5 separate regions of the Homo sapiens genome follow, and all the other regions are linked to region 5. The links are contacts of gene promoters, found by promoter capture Hi-C in blood cells and fetal thymus (Javierre and others, 2016). All regions are on one chromosome and are shown on one strand. Each heading gives the region's core, a stretch centred on a gene start or on the middle of the fragment in contact. The rest is flanking DNA. Distances are from core to core; before and after follow the strand shown.

Region 1 (5,257 bases), core at 632-3,131, 350 kb after region 5:
AGATCATTTTCAATAGCAATAAGGCCATGGAGACAATAAAAGAGGCTGAGGTGAGAGGGACGTGGGGGATATGTTGGGAGGTCAGGAAAGGACACACCAGGAAGTAACATGGAAGCTGAATCTTTAAGATCCCTCTTTCTTGGAGTGGCCTTTTCTCGCAGAGTCAACACTTGGAAACCTGGGAACACAGCATTCCATGCAGAGGGAACAGCAAGCGGAAATGGGCATGGTTTGCTCCAGGGACAGATATAAAAGGTCAGTGTGCAGGGGAAGGATGAAGAGCTGGGAGGCTCAGTGGACAGGAGGGGAGAGGGCTGGCGGAGGCCACCTGATGGTGTGGGGTCAACAATACATGCTTGGGTGCTGAGTGCAGTGGGAAACACACACATACAATCACACACTGATACAGTTTCAATACATGATGCCACGTAATCTCATGTTGAATTGTAATCCCCAATATTGAAGATGGGGCCTGATGAAAGGTGATTGGAACATGGTGTAGAATTCTCATGAATGGTTTAGCACCATCTTCTTGGTGCTGTCATTGCAATAGTGACTGAGTTCACGTGAGATCTGGTCATTTAAAAGTGTGTGGCATCTCCCCCACTGCACTCTCTTTCTCTTTTTTTTTTTTTTAAAAGACAGGATCTTGCTCTGTCACCCAGGCTGTGGTGCAGTGGCACAACCTTGACTCACTGCAACCCCCACCTTCCGGGTTCAAGTGATTCTCGTGCCTCAGCCTCCTGAATAGCTGGGATCACAGGTGCGCACCACCACGCCCAGCTAATTTTTGTATTTTTTGTAGTGACGTGGTTTAACCATGTTGGCCAGGCTGGTCTCAAACTCCTGACCTCAAGTGATCTGCCCACCTTGGCCTCCCAAAGTGCTGGGATTCCAGGTGTGAGCCACTGCACCTGGCCCCCTACTCTCTTTCTCTTGCTCCTGCTCTGCTATGTGAGATGTCTGCTCCTGCTTCATCTTCCACTGTGAGTAAAAGCTCCCTGAGGTCTCCCCAGAAGCTGAGCTGATGCCTGTGTCATGCTTCCTATAGGCTGCAGAACCATGAGCCAATTAAACCTCTTTATAAATTACCCAGTCTCAGGTATTACTTTTCAGCAATGCAAGATAATACACACACATGCAAGGGCTAATACACACACACAAACACACACACACACACGCAACTGGTGGAGAGTGACCATTTGGTAGAGGCAGGAGTTAAGTGAGCACGCCAACCCCCAAACCAACAGTGATAAATGTCATGGGAATGACACAGCGAAGGTTGCTGCCTAGGCATTAGAAGCAGAACCACACACCCAAATGGTTCAAGCAGGTGACCAGAGGTAAGAACTTAGAAGCAGCTCTCTCACCTAGCAGCTCCCCACTTTTCCTGCTGCTTCTGTTTAATGGACCATTCAGGCATTTGTGCATGAACTTAAGGTGACCCACATCCTATTTCCTTATCTATACTCCTGGGCTCTGATGAGCCTCCTTATACATACTGTCAGTTGCTGCCTCTCTCTCTGTCTCTCCCTTTCTTTCTCTCTCTCTCTCTCTCTCTTTCTGCCTGACCCTTTGTTCCTGCTTCGTGTGAGCCAGGGACAGGAGACATCCTCCTGACTCACTGTGCCTTCCCTGCCCAGGATCTGAAAGTAATAAATCTTTCAGCTTGTTTCTGATTATGGTGTACTGCGCCCTCCATCTGAAGAACCAGGGGCTACCCCAGGCGGAGTTTTCCCTGGGATGCCAGGGAGAACACAAGGTCAGGATCCTAGCATCAGAGCAATGGGCAGGCAGGACATGGGTCAGACAAGGGCCACCAGGTGTCTGCCAGTATAAACAAGTTTCCCAGTGAGGGACACCTGGTCATGGATCAGACAACTAAGCAGCAGGCTGTCCACAGTTAGAAGTAACGAAAGGCACAGTGTAAACACCCACATCCTGCTCCTGCTTATTTCGTGTTAGGGCGGTGTTGCTAGGCACTGTGGTACCGGACCCCCAATTTAGCTGGGGGCTTTCAAAACAGTAAAATACTGGATTTAAAAAAAATACTTAAAGGCCAGGTATGGTGGCTCACACCTGTAATCCTAACACTTTAGGAGGCCAAGGCAGAAGGATTCCTTGATGCTGGGAGTTCAAGACCAGTCTTGGCAACATAGAGAGACTCCATCTCTACAAAACTTTCTTTTTTTTTTTTTTAATAAGTTGGGCATAGTGGCATGTGCCTGTTGTCCTAGCTACTCCAAAAGCTGAGGCAGGAAGATCGCTTGAGCCCAGAGGTTCAAGATTACAATGAGCTATGATCATGCCACTGCACTCCAGCCTGGGCAACAGAGTGAGACTCTGTGTATTAAAAAAAAAAAAAAAATCAAAACAAAACAAAACAAAAACCCCAAACTTAAAGATACTGGAAATCAGACAGAAACCAGAAGAGTTTTATTTATTTTTTATTTTTTTCGAGACAGGATCTTGCTCTGTAGCCCCAGGCTGGAATGAATTGGTGCAAACACGGCTCATTGCAGCTTCGACCTCCTGGGCTTAGGTGATCCTCTCACCTCAGCCTCCTGAGTAGCTGGGACTACAGGCCCATGCCACCATGCCTGGCTAATTTTTGTATTTTTTGTAGAGATGAGGTCTCGCCACAATGCCCAGGCTGGTCTTGAACTTTTGGGCTCAAGTGATCCTCTGGCCTCAAAGTGATCCTCTGGCCTCAAGCTCCCAAAGTGCTGGGATTACAGGCATAAGCCACTGCACTCAGCCATAGTTGTTTTTTGTTTTTTGAGACAGGGTCTGGCTTTGTCGCCCGGGCTGAAGTGCAGTGGCACAATTGCAACTCACTGTAGCCTTGACCTCCTGGGCTCAAGCCATCCTTCCACCTCAGCCTCCCAAGTAGCTATGACCACAGGCGTGTGACACCACGCCTGGAAAATTTATGTATTGATTGATTGATTTTTTTTCAGAGACAGGGTCTCACTGTTGCCTAGGCTGGTCTCAAATTCTTGGGCTTAAGTGATCCTACTGCCTCGGCCTCCCAAAGTGCTGGGATTACAGGCCTGAGCCACCACACCCTGCCTCAGAAGAGTTTTAAACTAAAACTAAAATCAAAACAAGCAAACAACAAGACAGTTCTGGGCATGAGCTGCTTTGCTCCACTGACAGTTCAGCTGTGCCTACGTGAAGCAAACCCCTCAGGGCCTGGTGAAAGAGTCTTCTCTTGAAAGACAGCTATGCAGAACAAGGGCTGTGGGTCTGATGCTCCTTGCCTCAAACACATGCATCTTGGGTTTCAAAAAGCTGAAGTTAAGGACAGAGCACACAGCAGGCAGAGCGGCTGGAAATTAGGGGAATCCCTAGAAGCAAGGAAGTCACAGCCACGATGAACCCCATGTCTGCCCAAATACTTGGCTAGCCACCAAATCTGGCAGGCAGAGGAAAGACCTGTGGGATCAGGCTTAAAGCAATAGCGGGTCACAAAAAGAACAGATATCAATAACTACACTGTGAGGGATGTGAAGTTTGCAGATTGAATCCAGACAATTAACTGCTTACTGGAATAAAAATCCAAGCATCTTTAGAAGAACATGACAGAATCCAAAGTCACTATAACATTGTATCTACAATATCCAATGTTCAACCAAAAGTTACTAAACATGCAAAGAAACAGGAATATGTGATCTCTATTCAGGAAAAGGGGCAAATAGAAATTGATGCTATGCGGGCCCAGATGTTTGATTTAGCAAAGACTTCCGAGTAGCTATTATAAATATGTTTAAATAATTGAAGGAAAATATACAATCAATGAAGAAATGGAGAATCTCAAATTAAAAATAAAAACAATAAAAAAAAGGCCGGGCGCGGTGGCTCATGCTTGTAGTCCCAGCACTTTGGGAGGCCGAGGCGGGCGGATGATGAGGTCAGGAGATCGAGACCACGGTGAAACCCTGTCTCTACTAAAAATACAAAAAAAAATTAGCCGGGCGCGGTGGCGGGCGCCTGTAGTCCCAGCTACTCAGAGAGGCTGAGGCAGAAGAATGGCGTGAACCCGGGAGGCGGAGCTTGCAGTGAGCCGAGATCGCGCCACTGCACTCCAGCCTGGGTGACAGAGACTCTGTCTCAAAAAAAAAAAAAAAAAAAAAAAAAATAGAATAAATAAATAAATAAAATAAAAAATAAATAAAAATGTAATCCCAGCACTTTGGGAGGCTGAGGTGAGCAGATCATCTGAGGTCGGGAGTTTGAGACCAGCCTGGCCAACATGGCAAAACCCCATCTCTACTAAAAATACAAAAATTAGCCAGGTGTGGTGCACACCCATAATCCCAGCTTCTTAGGAGGCTGAGGCAGGAGAATTGCCTGAACCTGGGAGGCAGAGGTTGCAGTGAGTCAAGATCATGCCACCGCACTCTGGCCTGGGTGACAGAACCAGAATCTGTCTCAGAAAAATAAATACATAAATAAAAATAAAAATAGAAATCCTAGGCTGGGATGGTGGCTCATGCCTGTAATTCCAGAGCTTTGGGAGGCCAAGGCAGGAGGATCCCTTGAGCCTAGGAGTTCAAGACCAGCCTGGGCAACATACTGAAACCCTGTTTCTACAAAAAAAATTTAGCCAGGTGTGGTGGCACATGCCTGTAATCCTACTTCCTGTAGCTCCTAGGGAGACTGAGGCAGGAGTATTGCTTGGGCCCAGGAGTTTGATGAGCTATGGTCACACCATTGCACTCCAACCTAGCTAACAGAGCGAGACCCTGTCTCTACATTAAAAAAAAAAAAAGGCTGGATGAGGTGGCTCATGCCTGTAATCCCAGCACTTTGTGAGGCCAGGGCGGGCAGATCATTTGAGGTCAGGAGTTTGAGACCAGCCTGGCCAACATGGCGAAACCTCGTCTCTACTAAAAATACAAAAATTAGCTGGGCATGATGGTGTGTGCCTGTAATCCCAGCTACTTCGGAGGCTGAGGCAGGAGAATCACTTGAAACCAGGAGGTGGAGGTTGCAGTGAGCTGAGATTGCACCACTGCACTACAACCTGGGCAACAGAGCAAGACTCTATCTAAAAAAAAAAAAAAGGAAATCCTATAGCTGAAAACTATGTAATTGAAATAAAAATTGTGCTATATAGGCTTGTCTCATTCTGTTTGGGTTGCTGTAACCAAATTCTATAGACTGGGTAAGCTTCTAAAGAACAGACATGTATTGCAGTAGAATGTATTGCAGTTCTAGAGGCTAAGAAGTCTGAGAGCAAGGCACCAGCAGA
Region 2 (5,518 bases), core at 1,505-4,004, 330 kb after region 5:
ACAGGTTATGGGAAAGTGTGTCTAACAAAGGCTGTCTTGTGGTGCAGATGAAAATATCCCTCAGCCGGACATTGTGGCTAATGCCTGTAATCCCAGCACTTTGGGAGACTGAGGCAGGAGAATCGCTTGAGCCCAGGAGTTTGAGACCAGCCCTAGCAACATAGCGAGATACCATCTCTGAAAATAATTTTTAAAAATTAGCTGGGCATGGTGGTGTGCACCTGTAGTCCCAGCTACTCAGGAGGCTAAGGTGGGAGGATCTATAGAGCCTGGGAGTTTGAGGCTGCAGTGAGCTCTCATTGCACTACTGCCCTCCAGCCTGAGCAACACAGCAAGACCCTGTCCCGAAAAAGAGAAAAAAAAAAAAAAAAAAAAATCCCAGGTAAACTCAGAGCTGCCCTCAGAAAGAATAGATGGTGGCCTTTGGTAAAAGATTCTCTCTGAGACCTTTAAAAGTGTCAGACTTCAGTGTTTATTTTCCTGAGTTAATCTTTCCTAGATTCAGATAAGGGAGGCATTACCCCCAAAACCGGGTTTGTTTGCCTGGTGAGTAACAAATGACTCTCCATGAGGATGCAGGTTTTGATCAATAAAAGTTTTATTACCTGGCCCAAGTAGGTAGAACCCTGGGAGTATTCTCCAAGGCAGTGTCCCCTGAGGGAAAGTGACAGGAGGGTTTCATGGGGCGATGGAGGGGGAGAGGATGTGTCTTCGCATGTGGAGGAGGGGTCCCAGAGGTGCAGACGCAGTGATCCTCATGCCAGCACATAGGTCGCATGTGATGGTGATGGAGCTGAGCTGCAGCCCTTCCTGGGGTGGAGACTTTAGCATGGTAACAAGAAAGGTCACTTGGGTTCATCTGTAAGTTGCTAGGGTCTGTTGGGAGCTGGTTTGAATCAAGTGGGTGACTGCATTCTAAACAGGGCTTGGAAGAAACAGGCTGCAGGGCAGGAGGCTGTAAAACAGGCTGATAGGCTGGGCGTGGGGGTTCAAGCCTGTAATCTAACACTTTGAGAGGCCAAGGTGGGTGGATCACCTGAGGTCAGGAGTTCAAGACCAGCCTGGTCAACATGGTGAAACCCTGTCTCTACTAAAAATACAAAAATTAGCTGGGCGTGGTAGCACGAGCCTGTAGTCCCAGCTACTCGGGAGGCTGAGGCAGGAGAAATCCTTGAACCAGGGAGGTGGAGTTCGCAGTGAACCGAGATCACACTCCAGCCTGGCACTCCAGCCTGAGTGAAAGAGCGAGACTCTGTCTCAAAAAAAACAAAAAACAAAACAAAACAAAAAAACCCAAAACAGGCTGATTGCTTAAGTTGATTAAATTCCTATAATCCTTTGAGATCCCCCAACCCCCTCACCCCTGCACCCCACTTGCTTACAGGGTCCTCAGGGAAAGCCTGGGCATTGATTTCACTAACATAGATTTTCTCTCCAGGTGCAACTCTCCCTCACGAAAGGCAGCTTTTCAAAGTCCTTCTTCTGTTTGCAGCCTCTCTGAATAGCCATCTCAAAATAAGCCAAAGAGGTATATTTTGGGGTGAAATATTCTCGTTTCCTTTGGGGGAACACAAACATTCAACCCATAACAGAGACAGTCCCTGTCAATGTCATGTGTTAACAGTCAGGAGGCAGCCCAGGGTGGAGCGGCAGGCTGGAGACCCGGGATTGCTGGGCTGAGATCCGGCTGGGGCATCCCTGAGAGCAGGAGGTGGCTGGACCGCGGGAGGTCAGTGCCTGCCTGGCGGGGAGCCCCAAGGGCACCTGTCTGGGCTAGCCAAGAGGAGAGCATCCGCCCCGGGAGGAGTGCAGGCAGGACTCCCGCTGACAGGGCCTGCTTGGTAGATGCTGGGCAAGTAATTAGAGAAGGGACGATTACCCACCACAGGCTGTTGGCTCTGGATGTAAAAGAAATTGACATGAGGCCAAAAGAGTTTTCCCAGACGAGGCTTCATTAGAGCTTATGCCTGGACATAAGGGAGGCAGCACTAGAGAGGAGAGAGAGAGAGAGAGAGAGAGAGAGAGTGATAGAGAGACAGAGAGAGAGAGTGACGGAGAGACAGAGAGTGAGAGACAGAGAGAGACAGAGACAGAGAAAAAGACAGAAAGACAGAGAAAGAGACAGAAGGACAGAGACAGAGAGAGACAGAAAGACAGTGAGAGAAAGGCAGAGAGAGCGACAGAAAGAGAGAGAGACAGAGAGAGAGAGAGGGAGAGAGAGAGAGAGAATTTCCTGACTGACTCTCCAAAAAGAGCTGGTGGAGATTTTTTTATTAGACAAAGCATAGGAACTAATATCAGGGGTAGGGCGAGCAGGCTGAGCCGGGCAGACCTCATAAGGGGTAGGGTGTGCAGGTCAGCATATTTGATTGCCATGGTTTTCATGGTCAGGATAACCATGACCCATTAATAATAATGGGCCACCTGGTGGTCTGGCTGGTAGCAACAAAGCTTTAAATCAATTGTTCAGAATTCCTTCCTGGGATGCGACACTGTGCAACCTTGGTTATCTCCTCAGGCCAGTTCCTGGAATTTTTTTTTTTCTTTTTTTTGAGACAGGGTCTTGCTGTGTTGCCAGGCTGGAGTACAATGGCACCATCATGACTCACTGCAGACTTGACCTCCCTGGGCTCAAGTGATCCTCCCACCTCAGACTCCTGAGTAGCTGGGACTACACGTGTTTGTCACTATGCTCAGCTAATTTTTGTATTTTTTTGGAGAGACGGGGTTTTGTCATGTTGCCCAAGCAGGTCTAAAACTTACAGACTCAAGCGATCCGCCTGCCTCGCCTCTCAAAATGCTAGGATTACACATGTGAGCCACTGCGCCTGGCCAGAGTTCTTTAAGTAAGCGGCATGGTTAAACATTATGGCATCGTGGGGTAGTGGTGTGGGTTTTGTGATCCGTGGGAATGCTGTAGTGGGGCTGAGCTGAAGCCAAGTCTTATCTCTACTGTCTCAGTACTCTCACTCCAGCTATTACCGAGCAAATGGGCTTGCTGCCTGACTGCACAGAAGCCAACACTGCTGCTCCAGCTTTGAGAAAAGAAAAGCTTCATTGTGAGGCAGACCAGCAAGGAGACAGGAGGCACAGCTCAAACTTCTCTCTCCAATTTGGGGTGTGGGGCACGTTTTAAGGGGTCAGAGGGCAAGGGAAAGTATTTAGGAATGTTGGCTTGGCAGGGTCTGATTGGAGGGCTTCAAATTTAACCATTTGTGGTAAGGTATGTTGAGGCAGATTTTAGCCCCAGATCTTCCAGGCCCATAGACTCCTTCCTTTTGAAAGGGTTCCAGTGTTCAGGTTCTGGTCATGTCCCAGTCCTGTTGGCTCTGCAGGAAGAAATCATTGGTTCCGGTGTTGTTAGAGGTCAAAGCTTTTTCTATTGTGCCTGGACTACATGACTCGCAGTTTTGGCTTGGTTATACCTACAAGGTAACTTGACATTCTCTTATCAACAGAGTAGGCTCAGTTTGGTCTGGTTCTGTGATTACGCCACTCCTTGTATCCTTTCAAATAACCATTTCGGGCCAGGCACAGTGGCTCACATCTGTAATCCCAGCACTTTGGGAGGCCGAGGCAGGAGGATCACTTGAGGTCAGGAGTTTGAGACCAGCCTGGCTAACATACAAAAACTAGCCAGTCAAGGTTGCAGGAGCCTGTAATCCCAGCTACTCAGGAGGCTCAGGCAAGATAATCGTTTGAACCCGAAAGGCGGAGGTTGCAGTGAGCCGAGGTCGCGCCATTGCACTCCAGCCTGGACAATGGAGCAAGACTCTGTCTCAAACAAACAAAAATAAAACAAAACAAAAAAAACCCCACCCATTTCGTTACAGTTTGAGAGAGTCTGAGAGGCTGAAAGGACTGGATCCTTTCTGTGTGGGTGTTGATGTCACAGATTTGACATCATTGTCCCCGGGCCCCTCTGGGGGAGCTGGCCCCTGCAGTCCCTGAGGCTGAGTCTGGGCGTGAAAGGCTTGCTTTTGGCTGGCACACTGGGACCGTTGTTTTCAGCCAACAGATGAAACCCAGCTAGTTGGAAGAGGCCCATTCAACCCCCATGTTTACACATGAGGAGCTGGGGGCCAGGGCGACAGGAAGTGGCTTGCCCATGTCAGTGGAGCTGGTGGCAGAGCATCCGCTTGGCAGAGGATGGCAGCCCACAGCCCCAGGCGATGGAGGCACCCCATTTCCAGTGTGGCTGCTTCGTGCTTGCTGTTGACTTGCAGTTTGGAACCTTGTACTGCGTGCTTCATTCGCAGGACAGAAGCTAAATCTGCGCCCTCTGCCGTCCTCTCAGAGGAAGTGCCTGTATTTGGTGAGAACGGGGGTGAGAGAGGCTCCAAGATGCCCCTTGGCAGAAATTTCCAGTAATTGGCTGGGAGGAGGCTCACCCCACCTGAGCAGGAGCAAGCGGCGGTAGGGAACACAGCGCGCACGAAATAGCAAATTTCACTGATTATTGAGAAGAAAGGAGAGGGGGTGTATTTGGTGAGCTGGAGGTGGTCTCCTCACATATCTGTTAGGATGTTTGCAGCCATGAGCAACAGGAAACCTAATTCCAATGACCTAAACAAGGAGGCTTTGTCATCCCACATCACAGGCAGCCCCAAGGCAAGGCAACTCCGGGTCAGCTACTTTAGTAGCTCAATTTGGTACCATCAAGAATCATAAATCATGGATGGGCACAGAGGCTCGTGCCTGTAATCCCAGCACTCTGGGAGGCTGAAGCGGGAGGATCACTTGAAGCCAGAAGTTGGAGGCCAGCCTGGGCAATATAGTAAGACCCTATCTCTACAAAAAAATGTGTAGAGATGTGGTGGCACATGCCTATACTCCCCCCTACTTGAGAGGCGAGGCAAGAGGATCGCTTAAGGCCAGGAGTTTGAGGCTGCAGTGAGCTATGATTATGGCACTGAAATCCAGCCTGGGTAACCGAGCAAGACCCCCACTCTCTAAAAAAAGAATCATAAATCATAACATCGCTTTGTACTCCAACAATTTATACAATTATAAAATATTGATGTACAACTTTAAAAAAACAGGAGCGAAAAAAGAGTCCTTCCCCCTCAGCCATCCTCAGCATACAGCCTGGCCCCACCTCCCATGCCTGCCAGATGGCAGCTGCAGGCCCACGCAGACTCCCAGCTCTGCGGGGAAGATTCGCTGTGAGTTTTTTTAAGAAACTATCCCCCATCGGCCAGGCGCGGTGGCTCATGCCTGTAATCCCAGCACTTTGGGAGGCCTAGGCGGGCAGATCACAAGGTCAGGAGATCGAGACCATCCTGGCTAACATGGTGAAACCTCGTCTCTACTAAAAACATAAAAAATTAGCCGGGCGTGGTGGCGGGCACCTGTAGTCCCAGCTACTCGGGAGGCTGAGGCAGGAGAATGGCGTGAACCCAGGAGGCAGAGCTTGCAGTGAGCCGAGATCGCGCCACTGCACTCCAGCCTAGGGGACAGAGCGAGACTCCATCTAAAAAAACAAAAAAGAAAAGAAAAGAAAAAAAGAAAAAGAAAC
Region 3 (4,982 bases), core at 1,791-4,290, 380 kb after region 5:
CTTAATTTTATAACAATATAATCATATCTATACAAGTACTCTGGAAGTTTCAAAGTGCACCATAAAATGCTAGTCTACCTAATTTGAGAGACAAGATGACAAAAGTAAAGAGAATTCTTTTGGCTGGGCGCGGTGGCTCACGCTTGTAATCCCAGCACTTTGGGAGGCCAAGGCGGGCGGATCACAAGGTCAGGAGATCGAGACCACCCTGGCTAACACAGTGAAACGCCGTCTCTACTAAAAATACAAAAAATTAGCCGGGCGTGGTGGCGGGCGCCTGTAGTCCCAGCTACTCCGGAGGCTGAGGCAGGAGAATGGCGTGAACCCAGGAGGTGGAGCTTGCAGTGAGCCGAGATCGCGCCACTGCACTCCAGCCTGGGTGACAGAGTGAGACTCCGTCTCAAAAAAAAAAGAGAATTCCTTTGGGTAAGAATCTACAGCTAGTAAAATGCCGGAGCTGGGAGCTGGACACAAGTCCCTTAATCCCAGCCTCGGGGTCTTTCCACACACATGCTTCTTGCCACACAAGATGACAAATCCCTCATTCGTCACCATCCTTCTGTAAATGAGGGCTCCAAAAGATACCGCTATAGTTCCTACTAAAAGTGAAAAAACATGTTTGTCTAATTATTTAGTTCCTCTAACGCTTTGGGGGCTCCCCTTATAATCTGTTAGGTCATCCAGCTTTATTCTTTGCCGTGTGTAAAGTGTCTAAGTGGTCAGTGCAGCATGGCAGTTTCAGTTTGGTTTTTCACTCTTTCTACATTTTTAAAAAATAGAGATGGGGTCTCACTATGTTGGTCAGGTTGGTCTTGAACTCCTAGCCTCAAGCAATCCTCCTGCCTCAGCCTCCCAAAGTGCTAGGATTACAGGCGTGTCAGGATTATACCGTGCCCAGCCATTTTTCACTCTTTCCACAAGGTACAAGCTTTCTCCTAAAGGGCTCCAACATGTCAGAAAGGACGCTGGTGCTGCTGTACTGCCCTCTGAAGGTAAGGTAACCAAGAAGTTTCAGAAGAGTGGCCTTGTATTTGTATTGAGCCTACATATAGTTCCCGTTTATATAAGCCATATGGAATAAGCTAAAAAGGCTTTTAAAAGGGGATTTTGTCTTTACATACAGAATTTTAAAAAACAAAAACAGGAGACTACATTTGTGCATTTATTGTGTAATTAAAACCTAATTTAAAAAAATAAAATACACAATAAAAAAATCACATTTCTAGTCTGTATGGCCTAGTGCTGTAACAGAATCTGATACCTAGCATGTTATTAAGTAACAAATGCACTGTGCTGTGAACTCCAGAGGTAGAAGGAAGAAGTTTCAACAGCATCCCCACTCCATTCTGATGGATATTCTTCCATTAGGAAGAGTGGCTCCCATTCCCAATTCTGGTGATGGAGCTGGACAGAGGCTCTGCAGGATTTTTGAACTGTAGTAATTCAATAATTCTTTCAACATACAATGCTATGTCGCAGGCATCCTACCAGTCCCAATTTCACCACTCAACAACTAAATGAATCCACCTATAGTCCAAAATAGTCTATCCATTTTTCAAGGCTGCCCACTTCAAACATCTCCAGTCCCTCCAGGAAAACTCTGTATTTCTTCTATCCCCTCCCCATAATATCACAGGGTCCCTCCTTCAATTTAGCCATGGTTCAATCCACTGTCCTAACACTGGCAAGATAAGGTCTCCTCCCAGCTGGCTCAGCACATCAGGCAGCATGCAGCCGAATGTTTCATTCTCGCATGCGTGAAGTAGGCTGTGTTCTGGGCTTTGACCTCCGACTAGGTCATTAACCACAGTAACTGCCTTATGTAAGCATGCTGGTACTACAGAAGGGTCGGCCAGAGAACACTTGGCTCCAAGTGTTCTTGGGCTGCTGTTGCTGCTGCACAGAGAGGGAGCTCACTCTTAGACATCAAGCACTTTTGCAGACCAGTCCTTACCAATGCATGTGCACAAAGAGCTCCACCTTTTACGCTTGCAGTTGTCAATGTGCTGCCATGCAGAGACCAATAACGTGAGGCATCTACACAACACTGGTATTTATCACTCAGCATTGCCCCACCCCACCTTCATCCAGAGGCCTCCGAAGACCTCTCAGTAGAGTACAGTGGTTTTCAGCCCTGGGTGCAGAACACAATCACCCGGGGATGGTAACGTGATGTCTGGCCCCCTCTACCCACTGAGATGCTCAGGTGGTGTGGACTGGAGCCTGCCATCCAAAGCTCACTATATGTGGCCAGGACTGGTCAAAGGTGCTGGGTGGCAACCAGCTCCACCCCATTAAACTCTCTGAGCCTGTTTCCTCATCTGTAAAATGAGGATAATAGGACCTAATTATAGGGTTGCTGCAATAAAATAATTAATTTTAGATATTATGTAAATTATGTGAAATAACACACATAAGGCACCTGGCGCAGCATCTTGCACAAAGAATAAGGAGCTCAATAAATATCAGATATTGTTATTATCAACTGGTCCCAACCTTGCATTTTATGGATGAGAAAACAAAGACCGCAAAAGGTGATAACATTGCCCCACATCTCAGGGCTAGTAACGGCAAGATCAGATCTACTCCAGATCAAACACTCACTGAATTCCCAGGAAAGGCCAGCGATGTGGCAAGGGGAGGGGATTTAAGGATGGGTAAAATCTGAGACTAGAACTGCAGCCTCCCACGCCTAATGTACTAGGTAGGATAGAGTCTAAGATTTTGTGCTGTTTGGAATAGGGGAGAGAAGTGGAGACATTTGTTCAAAATAACCAGCAGAAAACATCTTCCAGAAACCAAATAAAAGTCATGGAAGCCCTTTGTTATTGTCAGTCCCTCAGATGTCACCTCACTGTTTAAGGAAAGTGATAGCTTTTCTCTGACATTTGAAAATGATGTTTTTAAGAGTTCATCCCATCAACCTATCATTTCTCCCTTCTTAGAAGACAGGATGGCCAGGCGCAGTGGCTCACGCCTGTAATCCCAGCACTTTGGGAGGCCGAGGTGGGAGGATCATGAGGTCAGGAGATCGAGACCATCCTGGCTAACATGGTGAAACCCCGTCTCTAATAAAAAAATTAGTCAGGCATGGTGGCGGGCGCCTGTAGTCCCAGCTACTCGGGAGGCTAAGGCAGGAGAATGGTGTGAACCCGGGAGGCAGAGCTTGCAGTGAGCAGAGATCGCGCTGCTGCACTCCAGCCTGGGCGACAGACCGAGACTCTGTCTCAAAAAAAAAAAAAACAAAAAAACATAAAAACAAAAAAGACACGATGAGAATGGGGCAAAATTGCAGCCATGTGAACAGTACAATTCCGGAGAGCAGGGTGCTACTGAGCCTGGATGGGCAGTGGCGCCTTGATAATGTCTTTAAAAGACATTATCAGCCTAATCGTTTCCCACAAGGGCAGACAAAATGAGCTTAGGAAAGACATCCGAGCAGGGTCTTGAAGAGATTTTTGTCATAGCGGGAAATTATACTAAGCAACTTCTAAGGTTTTACTCAAAACCAGCTTGGCTGTCCCCAATCCCAGTTCTGCAAAGCTCTGTTACAGACATAGGAGTTAACAGAGGGACTGTTCACTCTAATCTCATGAAATCTCCTACCCCCAGGCCCATTGAAGACCTTTACAGGACCATGACATTAAAGTGTTGTGAGACCCTGCTTCCAAATCATATTTAGAATTAAAACAATACTAACCTATTAAGTACATAAAGGCCAACCAAGTTCTGATTATTTTTATGATGTTTACTAGGGTAATCAAAAATTTAATTACTAAACCAATTCTTCTTCTTCTCCTCCAAATATTCTCAATTTATTGGTTGGTTTTGTTTTCCCTGCCTTGCTCGTCCCCAGTCTGCCCATCTGGTAACCCAACACTGCCTAACCCCCACTTGCTTACCTTTCAGGTGGTAAATTGGTGGCTTAGAGTCACCAACAGCCACACTATAAGCAATGTGTACAAAGGGAGCATGCTCTCTGCTACCAAAATGCACGTGGTAACAACAGCCACATTGACGTAATTACTAGATCCCAGGTGCTTTGTTCCAAACGCTTTACATTGTTCTAATCCTTACAAACTCTTGCAATGTCAGTTTTATAACCAAAGTGGCTAAGCCGACATTCAAAGCCAGGTGTGATTCCTCTGAGTCAGAAAGGCTCAGCTGAAAAGCTCAGCTGATGTGTATGACACAGCACACCAGCCCAGCCAATCAGACATCAAATTCAATCACCCCAGCAGGAAATCTGTTAAGAACTGATAGTGCCCAGGCATGGTGGCTCACACCTGAAATCCTGGCACCTTGGGAGGCCAAAGCAGGAGGATTGCTTGAGCCCCAAGAGTTCAAGACCAGCCTGGGCAATGCAGTGAGATGCCCGTCTCTATTTTTGGGGGGGGAAAAAAAAAGAAAGAAAAATTTTTTAATTAGAAAAAAAAGAAAAAGAAAAAAGAACCAATGGAAAACTCCTATAGAAACACTTTCGGACTCTGAGAGCCTTACTGGCAGCTCTGAACCTGGCAGGGCTCCTTCCAGCTCCTGAACTCTTCATGATCCCCAACTGCGGTGTGGTCAGGTTCATCGTTGGCATCAAAGTCATCCCCCAGGGACCCATCGGGGAAGTCTCCACAGTCACTCTCGTCAACTTCAGCATTGATGTCAAATACCTGGTCATTCTTCTTAAACTTGTCTACCAGGGCCGACACAGACTGGAGGGACAAAAGAGGGTTCTGTAATTCTCATTCCTATAACCACCCCAAATCACCACTGGAGGGACAGCCTTCTCACCCTTAAATTTCAGTTTCCAGCCTCCTCCTTCCCCTGAGCCACCCTTCCCTTTCCCATCCCCTGCCTGCCTGGGCCAAGACTCTCACGATAGTACAGTGAGGGGGAAGTTTATATTGTGCAGCACAGGAGGAAGCTGCATTGTTGTCAGGCACATTTTGTAAAACATGAAACAGGATTCTGTACCCATTAACTACATG
Region 4 (2,774 bases), core at 270-2,769, 450 kb after region 5:
ATCATGGCTCACTGCAGCCTTAACTTCCCAGGTTCAAGTGATCCTCCCACTTCAGCCTCCCTGGTAGCTGTGATTATAGACATGTACTACTAGATTAGCTAATTTTTATATTTTTTGTAGAGACAGGGTTTCACCATGGTCTAGAACTCCTGGGCTCAAGCATTCTGCCTGCGTTGGCCTCTGAAAGTGCTAGAATTACAGGCATGAGCCACCATGCCTGGCCCCCAGAGATCTTTTGTCTGCTTTATTTGCCTGAGTTAAATTTGGATTTGTTTGAGGAAGATATGTTCATAAGATCTGATTCGCCTTGTATTCACCTGATGGGTTGATACCTGCTCCCAATGCCCTACACTCCAATTGCCCAAACAGAAAGCATGGTGTCCAGGCCCCTTCAAGCATTCCTGCCTGATGTAGTTTTCCTCCCACAGCGCCTGGCCACTTATGGCATCACTGTTGCTGAACTGACTGGGGACCACCAGCTGTGCAAAGAAGAGATCAGTGCCACTCAGATCATCGTCTGCACCCCCGAGAAGTGGGACATCATCACCCGCAAGGGTGGTGAGCGCACCTACACCCAGCTGGTGCGGCTCATCATTCTGGTGAGTTGGGAGCAGTCGTAGAATATAGAGTCCAGTTGTGTCAGGGCGGGTTTGCTGGGTTTTCATGCGAAATGTTTCTTTGCTGCCTTTTCTGTAGGCACTAGCCTTTGTAATGACTAGTCCTCCAATTCCGTAGGATGAGATCCATCTTCTCCACGATGACAGAGGTCCTGTCTTAGAAGCTTTGGTGGCCAGGGCCATCCAAAACATTATAATGACAGCTATTGTCAGCTTGTGTTTGCCATCTTATTTATTTATTTATTTGTTTGTTTGTTTGTTTGAGATGGAGTCTAGCTCTGTCGCCCAGGCTGAGTACAGTGGCACGATCTTGGCTCACTGCAGCCTCTGCCTCCCGAGTTCAAGCAATTCTCCTGCCTCAGCCTCCCCTGTAGCTGGAATTACAGGCGCCTGCCACCATGCCCAGCTAATTTTTATATTTTTAGTAGAGACTGGGTTTCACTGTGTTGGCCAGGCTGGTCTCGAACTCCTGACCTCGTGATCTACCCACCTCAGCCTCCCAAAGTTCTGGGATTACAAGCGTGAGCCACTGCGCCTAGCCTGCCATGTTATTCTTTATATATTTTTTTATGTCTGAAATATTTTACTACACTTGATCTTAAGCCAAAAGGCCAAGAAGCTATGTCTGAAATATTTTGAAACAAATGTAAACAGATAGACAAAAAACCATCATATCCAACATCATTTAGGGTTTTATAAGTAAAAGAATCCATTCTCTGAGGGAATGAGTGAGGAAGCAGGATATTGTATTCCATATACACAGAAACTTCCAGAGATTAGTGACTAAGTCTGAGTATAGTTTAAGTTGTCTGGGAAAAGCAAGAAAGGAGACTTCACGTGTTGGTTTTCAGTGTTCTGGAGCAGGGGTTGGCAGTCTGTGGGTACTGGCTTTGTTCTGTTGGAACATAGTTACACCCATTTGTTTATGTATTGTTTACAGCTGCTTTTGGCTGCAATGGCAGAGCTGAGTATTTGCAATAGGGGCTGCGTGGGCCAAAGCCTGAAATACTGACTGTCTGGCTTTTTTTTTTTAGACGGAGTTTCACTCTTGTTGCCCAGGCTGGAGTGCGATGATGCAATCTCAGCTCACTACAGCCTCCGCCTCCCGGGTTCAAGCAGTTCTCCTGCCTCAGTCTCCCGAGTAGCTGGGATTACAGTTGCCCGCCACCATGCCCAGCTAATTTTTTGTATTTTTAGTAGAAATGGGGTTTCACCAATCTGATGGCCAGGCTGGTCTCGAACTCCTGGCCTTGGGTGATGCACCTACCTCAGCCTCCCAAAGTGCTGGGATTACAGGCGTGAGCCACTGCCCCCGGCTTTTTTTTTTTTTTTTTTTTGAGATGGAGCATCTGACTTTTTAAAAAAAACATTTCTGGTCCCTGCTTTAGAGCTTTGCTACTTGAAGCCTGATCCATGGTTGGGGTCATAGCAGCAGCAGCATGGAATAGGAGCTTGTTAGAAATGCAGGATTTGTGGCCTCACCCCACACCTGCTGAATACAATCTCCTTTTTAACAACATCCCCTGGCTTTGGGATACTTAATAAAATTTGAGATGCACTGCTTTAGACTATTCAAACTCATCATTTGATGTGTGATAGCTTTTGTTCTTGGGAACTATAACTGCCAGAGGTGAAGCTTCTGATCAGATCATATTTATATCCTTTTTCATAAAGAAGTTTACCTTTAAGTAAAGTTTAAACTCATTTATCTGAGTTTCAGAATTTCTTTATACAAAGTATGTTACTGAACTGTACCAAAGCAACTCATGGTCAGAGTCTGTTACTTTCTGGAGTATTTCATGGGAAATATTGTCTCCATCCTTTGGGCATCTGTGGCTTGGGATCCCTTGTCTTTTTTCTTAGGCATATTAGGTTATATGCCTACAATATGGGACAATTCCAGGAAAAGGGACTATGTATCTCTAGTGCTAGAGGTAATTTCTGTCCTCCAATTCCGTAGGATGAGATTCATCTTCTCCACGATGACAGAGGTCCTGTCTTAGAAGCTTTAGTGGCCAGGGCCATCCGAAACATTGAGATGACCCAAGAGGATGTCCGACTCATTGGTCTCAGTGCCACCCTACCCAACTATGAAGATGTAGCCACCTTTCTACGTGTTGACCCTGCCAAGGGTCTCTTTTACTTTGACAACAGGTA
Region 5 (5,056 bases), core at 1,119-3,618:
CCCATTTAATTTTTGTATATATATGTATATATATATTTTTCGAGACGAAGTCTCACTGTGTTGCCCAGGCTGGAGTGCTGTGGTGCGGTCTCGGCTCACTGCAACCTCCGCCTTCTGGGTTCAAGTGATTCTCCTGCCTCAGCCTCCTGAGTAGCTGGGACTACAGGCGTGTGCCACCACGGCTGGCTAATTTTTTGTATTTTTAGTAGAGATGGGGTTTCACCATGTTGGCCAGGATGGTCTTGAACTCCTGACCTCAGGTGATCCGCCTGCCTCCCAAAGTGCTGGGATTACAGGCCTGAGCCACCGTGCCCAGCCAAGACCCCATCTCTTTAAAAAAAATAGCTGTGACAGCTTTAATTTTAAAAAGTTGATCCCCTGTAAAGTAGGCTCATAATTATGTTTATCTTATTAAATATATTCATGCTCAGGAAAGCAAGAGAGTGTTAACTTTGGTTAAGTCTATTGGGAAGACATAAACACAGATCTGTCAATTGCTCTATATGAGATGTGCATGGAACACTTTGAGAGCTCAGACAGGAGAATCTACCCTGCCTGAGAGGTTTGAGAAGGACCTCCAGAAGGAAGTGGACTGCAGAAAAAAAAAAGAGGGAAGGGAAGCTGGAGCATAAAGATGGAGGAAAAGAGTCATGGGCAATAAGGCCAGGGCCAGATGGCAGGGGGCTTTGTGTGCCAAATTGAGGGGCTTGAATCTCCTCCCCACAGGTGATGGTGAGCCATCAAAGGCCCGGTTAATAAGAATGATGATGATGAAATAGCGCTTATGGCTTGGTGCGGTGGCTTACACCTCTAATCCCAGCACTTTGGGAGGCTGAGGAGAGAGGATCACTGAAGTCTAGAAGTATGAGACAAATCTGGGCAACTTAGTGAGACCTCCCCCACAACCCCATAGCTACAAAAAATAAAAATTAGCAAGGTGAGGTGGCACACACCTGTAGTCCCAGCTACTTGAGAGGCTGAAGTGGGAAGATCCCTTGAGTCCAGGAGGTTGAGGCTGTGGTCATGCCACTGCACTCCAGCCTGGGTGACAGAGAGAGACCCTGTCTCAAAAACAAAAACAAAAACAAAAACAAAAAAAAAAAGAAAAGAAAAAAGAAAGAAATAGTGCTTACTACACGCAAGGCACTGTTCTAAGAGGTTTACCAATATTGACTCATTTAACCCTGACACTTACCATGGTTAGATAGTTTGGATCACTTTAGTGGCTACGTGGAGACCAGTCTGGACACATGTTGTGGTGCCGGATAAAGACGAAGGGATGTGCCTGTAGTCCCAGTAACTCAGGAGGCTAAGGTGGCAGGATCACTTCAGCCAGGGAGGGAGAGGCTGGAGCTGAGATTGTGCCACTGCACTCCAGCCTGGGCAACAGAGCAAGACCTTGTCTCTCTTTTTTTTTTTTTTTTTGAGATGGAGTTTTGCTCTATGTGGCCCAGGCTGGAGTGCAATGGCTTGGTCTCGGCTCACTGCAACCTCTGCCTCCCAGGTTCAAGCGATTCTCCTGCCTCAGCCTCCCAGTAGCTGGGATTACAGGCACGTGCCACCACGCCTGGCTAATTTTTTTTTTTATTTTTAATAGAGACGGGGTTTCTCCACCTTGGTCAGGCTGGTCTCGAACTCCCAACCTCAGGTGATCCGCCTGCCTCGGCCTCCCAAAGTGCTGGGATTACAGGCGTGAGCCACCGCGCCTGGCCAAGACCTCGTCTCAAACCAAAAAGAAAAAAAAGAGGAAGGGAGGAAAGGAGGTGATGGCTTTTAGAATTAATTAATTTGTGTGCTTTCAGTTCTTTTATATCTGTAGGTTGCTTGATGGCCCAGACTATCACGGCAAAGGAGTCATTTGCATTTGAAGAGAATGTGTCTTCCGCAGTTGTTAGGTGGAGTTTCTATAAATATCATCAGGTCAAGTTAGTTGGTAGTGCTGTTCAAGTCTTTTATAAATTGATAGTTTTCCAGCTATTTTACGGATTTGTCTATTTCTCCTTTCACTGCTATATCTTCCAAATTGATTCAGAGAGCTGCAGTCAGGAGCGTACTATTGCAGAGAGGATAGAATGTTTGGGACCAGAAGAAACGTTTTATCTCTTTAAATTTACTCTCGTACGCAGAAAACAAAATACAAATAAACTACGTATCCCAGCAAGCCTAGTGGAACTCAGGGCAAATGCAAATAAGGGGGGGGGCTGGGCATTCGGCTACGCCCCTTTTCTGGGTTGGCAAGGCAACTGATACAGAAGCCAGCCAATCGGTGATATAGTCACCTGCAGGGGCGGGGGCTTGACGAAAGCCAATAGGACGCAGGGCAGATGGCTCTTCGGGCCAATGGGTTGGGCGACGGGGCGGGCTTTTGATGAAGGGTCGTTGGTGGGAAAGATGGCGGCGACTCTGGGACCCCTTGGGTCGTGGCAGCAGTGGCGGCGATGTTTGTCGGCTCGGGATGGGTCCAGGATGTTACTCCTTCTTCTTTTGTTGGGGTCTGGGCAGGGGCCACAGCAAGTCGGGGCGGGTCAAACGTTCGAGTACTTGAAACGGGAGCACTCGCTGTCGAAGCCCTACCAGGGTGAGGCGCCCAGGGTGAGGTGGTCGTGCAGTGGGGCGGGCTTCGGGACTTGATTTCAGGGGTAGAGGCGGGGGCGGCGAAGGGCTTCGTGGCCCGGAGGAAACTGCTGGCGGTGGTGGGGCCCACGGAGACTCCCTCCGCGTTTGGGAGCCACAGGTCTGAAAGGCAGGAGTTAGGTGTGCCTGCCAAGCTCTGGAAGTTTCCAGTAGGTAAAGGCAGGGCTGTCGGGTGCCACTAGTACTAGGCCTGGAGTTAGACAGGAGGAGTTTGGGAAGGGGAGAGAATTGAGAATGGTGAGGAGTGATTGAGGGCTACTAGCAATGAGCCAGTCTCCAGATGGACCTGTGGATGTGCTAGAAATAAAGCAGGAGGAAGAACTGGGGTAGAACTTGAACGAAATGAGAAGATGATAAATTTATGTTGCTGGGTAGAACCACCTTCTCTTCTCCAGCCTAGGGGCCCTGTTGGTGAAAGAGGTTAGGGTTCACAGAACTCTAAGCACAGCTTATCAGCCAGAAAATTAATGCAGTTAGCCACAAAACGATGACAAACCAGTGCAGATGGCTTAACTAACACAAGTCTTTCCCCACTAAGGCGTAGGTAGTGGGACAGAAAACAATTCAAAGTGCAAGAGTATACTCTACTACTAAGGGTAATCATTTATTCACTTACATGCCTGGAGTGCCTCTGTGCTGTCTCTTTGCTAATGCTTATGGGTTTGCAGACACAAAGTTTTCATTCTTAAAGAAGTTTATAGGTGAGGGTACAGGGAGTAGCTTCACACTTTAAGGATTGTTTAAAGAAAGAATGTGACGGCTGGGGCGGTGGCTCACGCCTGTAATCTCCGCACTTTGGGAGGCCGAGGTGGGCGGATCACGAGGTCAGGAGATTGAGACCATCCTAGCTAACACGGTGAAACCCCATCTCTGCTGAAAATACAAAAAAATTAGCCAGGTGTGGTGGCGGGCGCCTGTAGTCCCAGCTACTCAGGAGGCTGAGGCAGGAGAATGGCGTGAACCCGGGAGGCAGAGCTTACAGTGAGCCGAGGTCATGCCACTGCACTTCAGCCTGGGCAACAGAGCGAGACTCCATCTCAAAGAAAAAAAAAAAAGGAAGAATGTGACTAAGCCCCGGAGGCCTGAGGGTCAAACTCTTTTTATTTATATTTATATATTTTTAGAGACAAGGTCTTGTTCCGTTGCCTAGGCTGGAGTGCAGTGGCACAATCATGGCTCATGCAGTTTCAATCTCCTGGGCTCAAGCGATGCTCCCAACTCAGCCTCCTGAGTAGCTAGGACTATGGACAAGGACTACCACACCTGGCTAATTTTTTTTTTGGTAAAGACAGGGTCTTTCTATGTTGCCCAGGCTGGTCTCAAATTGCTGACCTCAAGATGCCCTCCCTCCACATCATCTCAAAGTGTGGGGATTACATGGGTGAGCCACTGCACCTGGCCTGTCAAACTCTTTTTGATATAACTCAGGAAAATTTTTTTCTTTTACGATGCTGAAGTTTACTCACATATAAAACGGGAAGAATGGATGTGAGCTATGGTTACTGTAACATGCATAAAGTGAGAGTTCTGATGTGCTTTGGGGTCCTTACCTGATAAAGGCCTTGTGAAAGCTGTAGAGATGGTAAGATTCATGACTGAGAGAAGATAGGAGATTGAGTGACATTAAAGGGGGAAAAAGATGATGGCTCAGCTTTCAGAGGCTCTGTGGTGGCTGCTTTCTGAATGGATTGGTGTTGAAAAGTATGAACTGATCTACTTCCTTCCTGTAGGTGTGGGCACAGGCAGTTCCTCACTGTGGAATCTGATGGGCAATGCCATGGTGATGACCCAGTATATCCGCCTTACCCCAGATATGCAAAGTAAACAGGGTGCCTTGTGGAACCGGGTGGTAAGAATCTTTCTCCCTCCTGTGTTGGTGACCCAGAAAGGCCTAAAAAGTTCAGCAGTGGCATACTGATTTAATTTTACTGTCTATCCCCCTGGTATTCTATCTTCTGTGGATATCAAGGATCTTTATTTTTGAGATTATTCTGACCTTGATAATAAATAAATCAGGTATTTAGGAAAATGCTCTCTATTTAATTATAGCAAATAATTCATTTTTTTTTCCTGAAATGTCGTTAATTCCTGATTGGCCCAATAGTACTACTTCTTAGGGTTTAATAATAACTTAACTCCTGCTTAACCACTTTGTAAGAAGATTATAAGAAGACCAGAGTGCAGTGGCACAATCATAGCTCACTGCAGCCTCAAACTCCTGGGCTTAAGGGCTCCTCCTGCCTCAGCCTCCTGAGTAGCTGAGACTACAGGCATGTGCCACTGCACCTGGCTAATTTTTAAAACGTTTTTTGTAGAGATGGGGTCTTGCTATGTTGCCCAGGCTGGTCTCAAACTCTTGGTCTCAAACAATCCTCCTGCCTTGGCCTCCCAAAGGTCAGGGATTATAGGTGTGAGCCACCGG

The links. The method cuts DNA at HindIII sites, captures the fragments that hold promoters and counts their contacts. A CHiCAGO score of 5 or more calls a contact.
Region 1: a fragment that was not itself captured here is called in contact with the fragment with the promoter of LMAN2L in region 5 in 2 of 17 cell types (naive CD4 T cells and total CD4 T cells); the score reaches 5.6 in naive CD4 T cells.
Region 2: a fragment that was not itself captured here is called in contact with the fragment with the promoter of LMAN2L in region 5 in 1 of 17 cell types (activated CD4 T cells); the score reaches 5.2 in activated CD4 T cells.
Region 3: a fragment that was not itself captured here is called in contact with the fragment with the promoter of LMAN2L in region 5 in 6 of 17 cell types (total CD4 T cells, naive CD8 T cells, non-activated CD4 T cells and 3 more); the score reaches 7.2 in total CD4 T cells.
Region 4: a contact is called between a fragment that was not itself captured here and the fragment with the promoter of LMAN2L in region 5, in 1 of 17 cell types (naive CD8 T cells). The highest score is 5.3, in naive CD8 T cells.

What each region holds. Positions count from the first base shown.
Region 1 is chr2:96,388,014-96,393,270 of GRCh38, reverse strand. No RefSeq gene overlaps it. Among named protein-coding and RNA genes, the nearest start is that of NCAPH, 55 kb to the right of the region's middle. The HindIII fragment of the contact is 6,592 bases long and covers 1-5,177 here.
Region 2 is chr2:96,406,284-96,411,801 of GRCh38, reverse strand. No RefSeq gene overlaps it. Among named protein-coding and RNA genes, the nearest start is that of NCAPH, 73 kb to the right of the region's middle. The HindIII fragment of the contact is 601 bases long and covers 2,454-3,054 here.
Region 3 is chr2:96,353,907-96,358,888 of GRCh38, reverse strand. NCAPH (non-SMC condensin I complex subunit H) reads right to left here. Exons shown (of 18, transcript NM_015341.5): 9 at 4,501-4,706. Among named protein-coding and RNA genes, the nearest start is that of NCAPH, 21 kb to the right of the region's middle. The HindIII fragment of the contact is 4,220 bases long and covers 931-4,982 here.
Region 4 is chr2:96,293,313-96,296,086 of GRCh38, reverse strand. It overlaps SNRNP200 (small nuclear ribonucleoprotein U5 subunit 200), which reads left to right. Exons shown (of 45, transcript NM_014014.5): 14 at 429-599; 15 at 2,578-2,771. Among named protein-coding and RNA genes, the nearest start is that of SNRNP200, 11 kb to the left of the region's middle. The HindIII fragment of the contact is 1,472 bases long and covers 784-2,255 here.
Region 5 is chr2:96,737,376-96,742,431 of GRCh38, reverse strand. It overlaps LMAN2L (lectin, mannose binding 2 like), which reads left to right and starts at 2,368. Exons shown (of 8, transcript NM_030805.4): 1 at 2,368-2,578; 2 at 4,365-4,483. The coding sequence starts at 2,392. RefSeq lists enhancers at 2,115-3,052, 3,053-3,992. The HindIII fragment of the contact is 9,784 bases long and covers 1-5,056 here.